Linked DNA regions of Homo sapiens: region 2 is linked to region 1. The links are contacts of gene promoters, found by promoter capture Hi-C in human tissues and cell types (Jung and others, 2019). All regions are on one chromosome and are shown on one strand. The core of a region is centred on a gene start or on the middle of the fragment in contact, and the rest is flanking DNA. Distances in the headings are between cores, read along the strand shown. Region 1 holds the start of C20orf141 (chromosome 20 open reading frame 141). Region 2 overlaps PTPRA (protein tyrosine phosphatase receptor type A).

Region 1 (4,577 bases), core at 650-3,149:
AAAAAAAAAAAAAAAAAAAAATAGAAAGAAAGGTTTTCCTCCTCAGAGCACTCCCTCAATAAACCATGTGTACAAGTATCCCCATCTCAGGCTCTACTTTTAGAAATTATGACCCATTGATATAGTCTGAATATTTGTCCAAATCTCAAGTTGAAATCTCAAATCCCAATGTTGGAGGTAGGGCCTGATGGGAGGTGTTTGGGTCATGGGGGTGGATATTTCATGGCTTGGTGCTGTCCTTGAAATAGTGAGTGAGTTCTCTCAAGATCTGGTTGTTTAAGTGTGTGGCAACTCCCCTAACCACCACTCTCTCCCTTGCTCTTCACCCTTTGCCTTCTGCCATGATTGGAAGTTTCCTGAGGTCTCCCCAAAAGCAGATGCTGGTACCCTACTTCCTGTACAGCCTGCAAAACTGCAAGCCAATTAAGCCTCTTTTCTTATAAATTACCCAGTCTCAGGTATTTCTTCATAGCAACGCAAGAATGGCCTAATACACCCACCATCTGGTGCAGTGCCTGGCACATAGGAAGCACTTAAATAAATGATTGTTGAATACAAAATAAACTCTGAGAAAATCACAGACAGAACTCTCCTATACATGCATACAGAGCACCTGGTGCATAGTAAATCTTTAAGGAGCTTTAGACTCTCCGATCCCCCCATGCCCTGCAATATGGAGTAGCCTCATCTTGGTGGACTCATCAGGACATGCTCCCCAGGTCTGTATGTCCAGGAATGCAATTGTGTGGATGCATCCAGGATTGATCAGGCTCAGGGAATTGCCAATCTTAAACCTTAATGTTCCTTTACAAGCACAATTGGAACTTAATGCCAAAAAAAAAAAAATTCTGGGATCTTCTGTTATACCCTATCCCATTACGGACAAATCTACTCGTAAAACCCAGCTGCTGGATAAGCAAGAACAGCCAGACCAAGGGCGATCAGTGCATGGTCATTAGGGCTGGTGACCCTCGTCTCTGGGCAAGGCCTGCTGGAGGTGGATATGCAGCCTGATTCTTGTTCTGTCTCCTCCTCTCCTAGGGGCTGTATGGCCACTGTCTCCCATTTTGCCACCCCTACCAGTTTTCCTTCAAAGTATGATATGTGGGCAAAGATTAAGTTCTCTTAATTATGACACATTTCCGCTCTTGCCTCTCAAGTCACTAAACTGAGATGTGCTGGACCCCTATGGCCACCACCCATTTACAGATGATCAGTGTAATCTGATATACTGATAATCCAAGTGACTAAGCCCTTCATTATATGTTCATTTTCCTTAACTCCATTCTCAGACTGTAACCTTAACCTCTAATAAGGGGGTTACTAGGTCATAGTCCTCTTAAGTTCATGTCCTCTACCTCATTACTGGAACCCCAGTATGCATAACACCCCCTATAAACTGTAGTGCTTAGAATACCTGAACAGCCCCCTCCTCTCTCACCCCCATTTAGCAGGTTATGCGGAAGCCCAGCCCCAGAAGCCTCAGGCAGTCCCCTGGCAGAGCCCATCTCTGCAATCTGGAACTTCAGGCCTGAAAAATCCCCTAGAAGGACCCACAGGGAAGACAGCTGGGGACAGAGATATTGAATGACTTCGCCCTGGACCTGCAGCTCTGCAAACTCACAGGAAGAAGAAAGCAGACCTCGCTCCCTTGGACAGATGCCCAAGTAGTAATGGGGTTAGAATGCCTTCCTGACAACTCAGATCCCCAAGGGAGGGCCCTAGGGCAGAGAATCAGCAAAGGCAAGAGGATGAGTCTTAGTTCTCAGAAATCCCTGACTTCCCAGCTAAGCCCCACCTAGGCCACCAGCTGCTTATGAGGTCAGAGCAGCAGCAGCAGCAGCCCCCTCCCTACCCCACGGCCCCACGTGGTAACAGGTCACAATGCCCCGGGTGCCCACTCCCAGAATGCTGACCAAAGTGGGAGGAGGTGAGGAGGGTTTGCTGGGTGGGTATGGGGGAGGGGGAGACTCTGCAGGAGCCTAATTCCCCACTCTGAGCTCACCCTTCTGTCTGCCCGGGCCCTACCCCTTCCCCTACTCTCACCCTTATAATCCTTTTCAGCACTAGGTCTTCCCGTCACCTCCACCTCTCTCCATGACCCGGCTCTGCTTACCCAGACCCGAAGCACGTGAGGATCCGATCCCAGTTCCTCCAAGGGGCCTGGGTGCTGGGGAGGGGTCAGGTAGTCCAGTGCGTCCACCTGTATCCACCTGGGGCCCTAGCTGGGCCCAGCTCCTGGACAGTGTCCTATGGCTGGGGGCACTAGGACTGACAATCCAGGCAGTCTTTTCCACCACTGGCCCAGCCCTGCTGCTGCTTCTGGTCAGCTTCCTCACCTTTGACCTGCTCCATAGGTAAGTGGGCAGCAGCCTGGCAGGTGGGCATTGTAGGCGGGCGGGCCAGTGGACAACTTCCCTAAGCCCAGTCACCACCCTCTCTCTCCACAGGCCCGCAGGTCACACTCTGCCACAGCGCAAACTTCTCACCAGGGGCCAGAGTCAGGGGGCCGGTGAAGGTCCTGGACAGCAGGAGGCTCTACTCCTGCAAATGGGTACAGTCTCAGGACAACTTAGCCTCCAGGACGCACTGCTGCTGCTGCTCATGGGGCTGGGCCCGCTCCTGAGAGCCTGTGGCATGCCCTTGACCCTGCTTGGCCTGGCTTTCTGCCTCCATCCTTGGGCCTGAGAGCCCCTCCCCACAACTCAGTGTCCTTCAAATATACAATGACCACCCTTCTTCATCAGGCCCCCTTTTCTCCTTCCTGGCTGGGCAGGTGGGATGATACCCCTTTCTTCCCAGCCTGAACCTCACAGTCCTATAATATAGGTATCAGATACCTGGATCTGAGTCTTTGGGCAGCAAGAGAAGGTAGGATACTAGCCAGGGAGCCCAAGGAAGAATGTGGCAGCCACCTCAGAGCCTGTGGATTGGGGGCAGCCACTCTGGCCTCCTCTGTGGCTCTAGAGAATGAAGGTCCAGACAGAAAGACTTGCGAGAGAGCAGTTTGGAAAGGGGTGGATATCAGCCAGCAGGGAAAGCAGGAAAGGGACAGGGATCCAGGGAGGGCTTCCCATGAGAAAGCATGAGAAACTACATCTGCGGGGCTCCGAGGCTCCCCTGCCAGCCTGGAGGGTCCGTGCAGAGGGACTTGGGTGGGCCTCACACCCTACAGTGACTCCTCTCTTGGCTGGACCCCACCCCAGCCCGGGTCACAAAGGGGCTCCTCTGGGGAGGGTGGGGGTAGATGAGAGTGGGGACTTGGATCTGCCTGCCAGGCCGTCCTGGGCGCTGCAGGAAGCAACATGACTTAGGTAACTGCCCAGAGGTAAGTCCCAGTCCCTAATTCTGTAGCCCCACCCCACGCACACTGGTGCCCTCCTGACCCCTGCACCCCCTCTCTGCCCCCCCCCCCCAAGGTCCCAGGCATCTTCAAGACCCTGGCCCTCTCCCCAGGTGCACCAGACATGATGCAGCAGCCGCGAGTGGAGACAGATACCATCGGGGCTGGCGAGGGGCCACAGCAGGCAGTGCCCTGGTCAGCCTGGGTCACGAGGCATGGCTGGGTGCGCTGGTGGGTGAGCCACATGCCCCCGAGCTGGATCCAGTGGTGGAGCACCTCGAACTGGCGGCAACCGCTGCAGCGCCTGCTGTGGGGTCTGGAGGGGATACTCTACCTGCTGCTGGCACTGATGTTGTGCCATGCACTCTTCACCACTGGCTCCCACCTGCTGAGCTCCTTGTGGCCTGTCGTGGCCGCGGTGTGGCGCCACCTGCTACCGGCTCTCCTGCTGCTGGTGCTCAGTGCTCTGCCTGCCCTCCTCTTCACGGCCTCCTTCCTGCTGCTCTTCTCCACACTGCTGAGCCTTGTGGGCCTCCTCACCTCCATGACTCACCCAGGCGACACTCAGGATTTGGATCAATAGAAGGGCAACCCCATCCCACTGCCTGTGTCTGTTGAGCCCTGGCCTAGGGCCTGAGACCCCACGGGGAGAGGGAGGGCAATGGGATCAGGGCTCCCTGCCTTGGCAGGGCCCAGACCCCTAGTCCCTAACAGGTAGACTGGCCTGACCCCGGACTCCTTCCTCAAGTCAATGCTGCAGGTTCCTGGTGTGAGGGGCTGGGGGCTTTGAGAAGAGGGGGCAAGACAGATGGCTTAGCCATTGGTGAAAATTGCTTAGCCAGGGGCAGAGCTTGACCAAGCCACTGATAGCGCCCATATGGATGTGATGATACCCGTGGGGCCCCCTTGGCAACTGACAGCATCTTTTTCTCATAGCCACTCAGCTGTCTCAGCTTCAGACTCACTGAGAACTTCTACCTGGGTACCACTGGCCTTGCCATTCCTCCCACCAATCCCCTCTTTCCACTTCCAGGAGAACCACAGACTCTAGAGAGGGTCCCAGTGACAAAAATCTATCAGGGAGAAGGCTGGCCAGAAGCCCCAGGAGACCTCAACTCACTCGCTCTCCAAACCTTGCAGCCCACGCATCCTCCTCCCTAGACTTCCTACTTCCTGCCTCAGTCTGCATCCCCAAGTCTGAGAAATGGGCCAACTGGGGTCAGACAGCACCTAC
Region 2 (4,577 bases), core at 1,445-3,944, 93 kb after region 1:
GGGGAAAAATACGTAAAGATTTCTAATTTAGACTATATTCAAATAATCACCAAATTATATAGAGCAGGGATACCCAACCTCCAGGCCACAGACCATCCTGTTAGGAACTGGGCCACACAGCAGGATATGAACTTTAGGCCAGGGAACATTACACCTGAGCTCTGCCTCCTGTCAGATCAGCAGCAGCATTAGATTTTCATAGGAGCACAAACCCTACTGCGAACTGTACACTCCAGGGATCTAGGTTGTGTGCTCCTTATGAGAATCTAATGCCTGATGATCTGAGGTGTTGCAGCTTCATCCCAAAATCTGAAACCATATCCTCCACCCCTCCATTTCATAGAAAAATTGTCTTCCACAAAACTGGTCCCTGGGTGCCAAAAAGATTGGAGACCGCTGATAATAGAGTATATATAATCAAATTACAGAAATAACCACACTCTATTCTTCCTCTAGAATATACTGAATGTTTCCTAAGAAAAGTTGAACACTCATGGCTGGTTGGCTGCTCTCTAGCACATCTTGCCTTCGTCTCTCACTAGTTGAATTTTACACTTCCAGGGGTCAGTATGTTTGTTCCAAATCTGCTTATGCCAGTTACATTTAGTACTGTAATTTTATAATTTAATTAAACATTAACTAATGAAATATGACTGCAAAAAGTAGTTGTTTTTAGGAAAATTAAGTTGTAGATCTTGAACAAATTGGATAAATACAAATCCCCTTTTCCCCTTTTCACCAAATTACTGTCTTACTAATTGTGGGCGTGAATATTTTGAAAGATTGGGGGTGGAAATCATAAAATTCTTTTTTTTTTTTTTTTTTTTTTTTGCTCTTGTTTCCCAGGCTAGAGTGCAATGGTGTGGTCTCAGCTCACCACAACCTCTGCCTCCTGGGTTCAAATGATTCTCCTGTCTCAGCCTGCCGAATAGCTGGGATTACAGGCATGCGCCACCACACCTGGCTACTTTTTTGTATTTTTAGTAGAGACATAGTTTCTCCATGTTGGTCAGGCTGGTCTCGAACTCCTGACCTCAGGTGATCCACCCGCCTCGGCCTCCCAAAGTGCTGGTATTACAGGTGTGAGCCACCACACCTGACCTCGTAAAATTCTTAAACGATCTATACTCAGTTGTCTTACAGTTGCCTAGATTCTTGTTCCATTTAAAGAAACTGAAATTTGAAATCACAAATGTGGATTATGGATATGATGGGTTATGGATATGATATATTTGTAATGAATATGCAAGAGAGAACATTTGAAACATTAATTAGTAGAAATGTACTTAAAGAAGAGGCCTTGGTTTTTTACCGTAATATTGGCAGGTGACATGTATTTGTTTTGAGTAAAAATCAAATATTTCAGTTACATTTTTAAAATTACCTGATATACTGTACTTTTTCATGTAACCAGTCAGCCCTGAGTCCTATTTGTGTTAGATAAGTTTTTACCAATCCCAGAAGGAGATAGAGGACAAGCTTTTATATGCTTCGGCTGAAGAAAACCTTTCTCCAAAGAAGTAATTATCTGATCCTCCTATAAAGGGCCAGATAGTAAATATTTTAGATTTTGCAGGCTGAAGTAGAATCAAGGGTAATACGTACGTTCTGATATAACAAGAGAGAAAACAAATTTTGAGAAATTTCTTAATTGATTAAATTCAAAATAATAAACACAATTTATTGAAATACAGGTATACTAATGAGAAGAATGGAGTTCTTTTCGGAGTGATAACATTTTCTTAATTGGAGTTCAGAGTTAGTGCTTCCTATTCAATAAATAATCATCAAAATTGATTGCAAGTATTTATCTATTAATGCAGGTCTGTAATGAGGTTTTATATATTTCATCTTTGACATGTCTTCACACATACATGTCAAATAATTGATACCAGCCCATAAACATATGATTTTAATTGAGCATATTAATAACTCAGGAAGCATTTATAGAATTAGGTTTTTCTTATAACATTTACCTTTTAGTATATTATTCATTGCTGCTTAATTACTTCCAATGGAAGGTTAGACAGAAGCTCCACAATTGCACTGTTAAATAGATACTGAAATATAGATATTTCCTTGTGCATTAAGGTCCTAAAAATTATTCTGGAAATGTAGTGTGAGCTAAGAAACTATATCCACTGCAAATTTGTTTGGGAATGGAGATCTCACTTCTTGTTTTAACTTTTGATAGCATGTAAAGTGTATAAAGCAGCTCAACGTTGCTTATGATTCAAAAGTTAGTTGTCTAAATAACAACAGTTTAAGTTTCATATATAAGTGTTGTTCTGTCCTGTAATTTTAAGTTGAATTTACTATTATAAAATTAGCAAAAGCTAATTCTCAAAGCCATTTATTGTTTGATCATAGTGTCTGAAAGCAGTCTTATTGTTGTGAAAAATTTCAATCTCAGTTCCAAGCTGAAAAGAAAAAAAAAAAAGCATGATAAAACTTTAGTACAGCTCAGCCGTCAAACTGCTGTGTGCCTGGGCAAGTCAGGTTATTCAGCTTCTGTTTCTGACAATGGTTAAGCCCATGGCAGTGAATGAAATTCACCATTAACATGGTTGGTTTAATAATTCATGATAAATTCAGATATTTTTCATAGAATATCTATTGATAAAAAACATGAATAACCACCTTACATTTTCACGTTTTATAAATCACCCAACTAAGCCTTTTTCTGCTTCACACATATTTTTACCATTATCAATGATAACGTATCTGAGATTCCACTTTAGGTTATATGGAATTAGTACTTTTTCACCTTCTTGTTTGTAGTTGTTCAACACAGACTATTCATAGAAGCTAATTCTTCAGTTGTTTTAAACTTGGCACTGACTCCTTGAATAAACATCTGAACAGTGTTGTAACATCTATCAAACTCATTCAAAAGAGATGGAAATCTACTTAACCTCAATTGCCTTGGTTTTTTTTTTAAACAGATTATTGATCTTGCTCCTAATATTTTCGACTTTTAGAGCAAATGATTTTGTTGAAAGGCTAATAGTCTTTTTTTCTTTTTAAATTATCTTATATTAAATTTAAAAAATAATTTTTTTGTTACCTGTCTGGAGAAAGCCTAGAGAAAGGCTAATTAATACTCTTAAACAAGTTTATTTTCTCTGGATACATTTCTTCAGCTTCTTCATGATTTAATTCACTTATCACTAGAATATTACTTTTCTTGCTTTGCTAACAAATGAGCTACTTAGAAACTTCCCTCCTTTACAAACTTTCTATTCCTTACCTTCCCTCCTTGCTGTAATGAAATATTCCACTTTAAATTTTCAAATTTTTCTGACCATTGCTTTCCTGTGAATCGGAAATACTGTGATCGGTCCTTAGTTTGGTAACATTGATGTATTTTGAATTCTTTTAGCACAGACAGACAGTTGACTCCTTGAACAACGCAGTTTCAAACTGCACAGGTCCAATTATATGAGAATTTTTTTTCAATAAATACAATCAGCAGTTTATACATATACAACCAAACGTGGATCAAAAATACGTTATTTGAGGAAACCCCCAGATACAGAACAGTGAAATTTTTGTATCCTCTGGGCCACTGTGGGACTTGAGTGTGCATAGATTTTGGTATCCACGGTTGATCCACAGATACCAAGGGATGACCGTAGAGTCATTGCATAATAAACAAAATGCTTCCCTATCTTGTCTTGATAAAATAATGCATACCCTCCACTGTGCCTTAAAAGCATGACATTCAGGCTGGGTGTGGTGGCTCACACTTGTAATCCCAGCACTTTTGGAGGCCAGGGTGGGAGGATTGCTTGAGCCCAGGAGTTCAAGACCAGCCTTGGCAACATAGTGAGAGTCCATCTCTAGTTTTAAAAAAATACAAAATTAAAAAAAATGAAAAACATGACATTCAAAGTGCATTTGTTTTTGTTTCGACATGATGGTTATGCACTAATAACTAATGATAGTTATGTACTAATAAAATGTCAAAATAATAACGACTTTTAGTTACTGATAACAGTTATGCATTAATAAAAAATAAAATGTCACAGTATGACAATATGCATGTGTGGCACCAAACATGCTGTTGAGTTATAACTTTGTGACTGTGATTTGTGGGATACTGAGCAGCAGTGGAAAGCTATATAAGCCACTCCACTCTGCCAGTCAGTACAGTGGCTGATTACCAATTATGGATAACCAGAACACATCAAAAAGCAGTTCAACAAGGATCAGAATAATAACATGTAAGTACCATTTATTAAGTAGTTATGTGTAAGGCACTGTGTCAGACTGTATAATGTACATTATTTAACCTTCAAAAGATTGAGAGGGAAGATCCCTTGAGTCTGGGAGGTCGAGGTTGCAGTTAGCTGTGATTGCACCACTGCACTCTAGCCTGAGTGATGGAGCGAAATCCTGTCTCAAAAAACAAAACAAAACAAAACAGGCCTGGTGCGGTGGCTCATGCTTGTAAATCCCAGCACTTTGGGAGGCTGAGGCTGAGGTCAGGAGTTTGAGACCAGCTGGGCCAACATGGCGAAACCACGTCTCTACTAAAAATACAGAAATTAGTTGGTGTGGTGGCTCACACCTAT

What was found. The method cuts DNA at HindIII sites, captures the fragments that hold promoters and counts their contacts. A contact is called where the count stands out against the background at its distance.
Region 2: a contact is called between a fragment that was not itself captured here and the fragment with the promoter of C20orf141 in region 1, in 2 of the 25 tissues and cell types used here (adrenal gland and mesenchymal stem cells).

The regions. Positions count from the first base shown.
Region 1 is chr20:2,813,088-2,817,664 of GRCh38, forward strand. C20orf141 (chromosome 20 open reading frame 141) reads left to right here and starts at 1,900. Exons shown (of 3, transcript NM_001256538.2): 1 at 1,900-1,930; 2 at 2,065-2,357; 3 at 2,451-2,743. The coding sequence starts at 2,098. The coding sequence ends at 2,688. It overlaps TMEM239 (transmembrane protein 239), which reads left to right and starts at 3,277. Exons shown (of 2, transcript NM_001167670.3): 1 at 3,277-3,328; 2 at 3,457-4,577. The coding sequence starts at 3,468. The coding sequence ends at 3,926. RefSeq lists a silencer at 3,774-3,833. The HindIII fragment of the contact is 18,533 bases long and covers 1-4,577 here.
Region 2 is chr20:2,904,884-2,909,460 of GRCh38, forward strand. All of the region lies in intron 1 of PTPRA (protein tyrosine phosphatase receptor type A), which reads left to right. Among named protein-coding and RNA genes, the nearest start is that of PTPRA, 34 kb to the left of the region's middle. The HindIII fragment of the contact is 8,451 bases long and covers 1-4,577 here.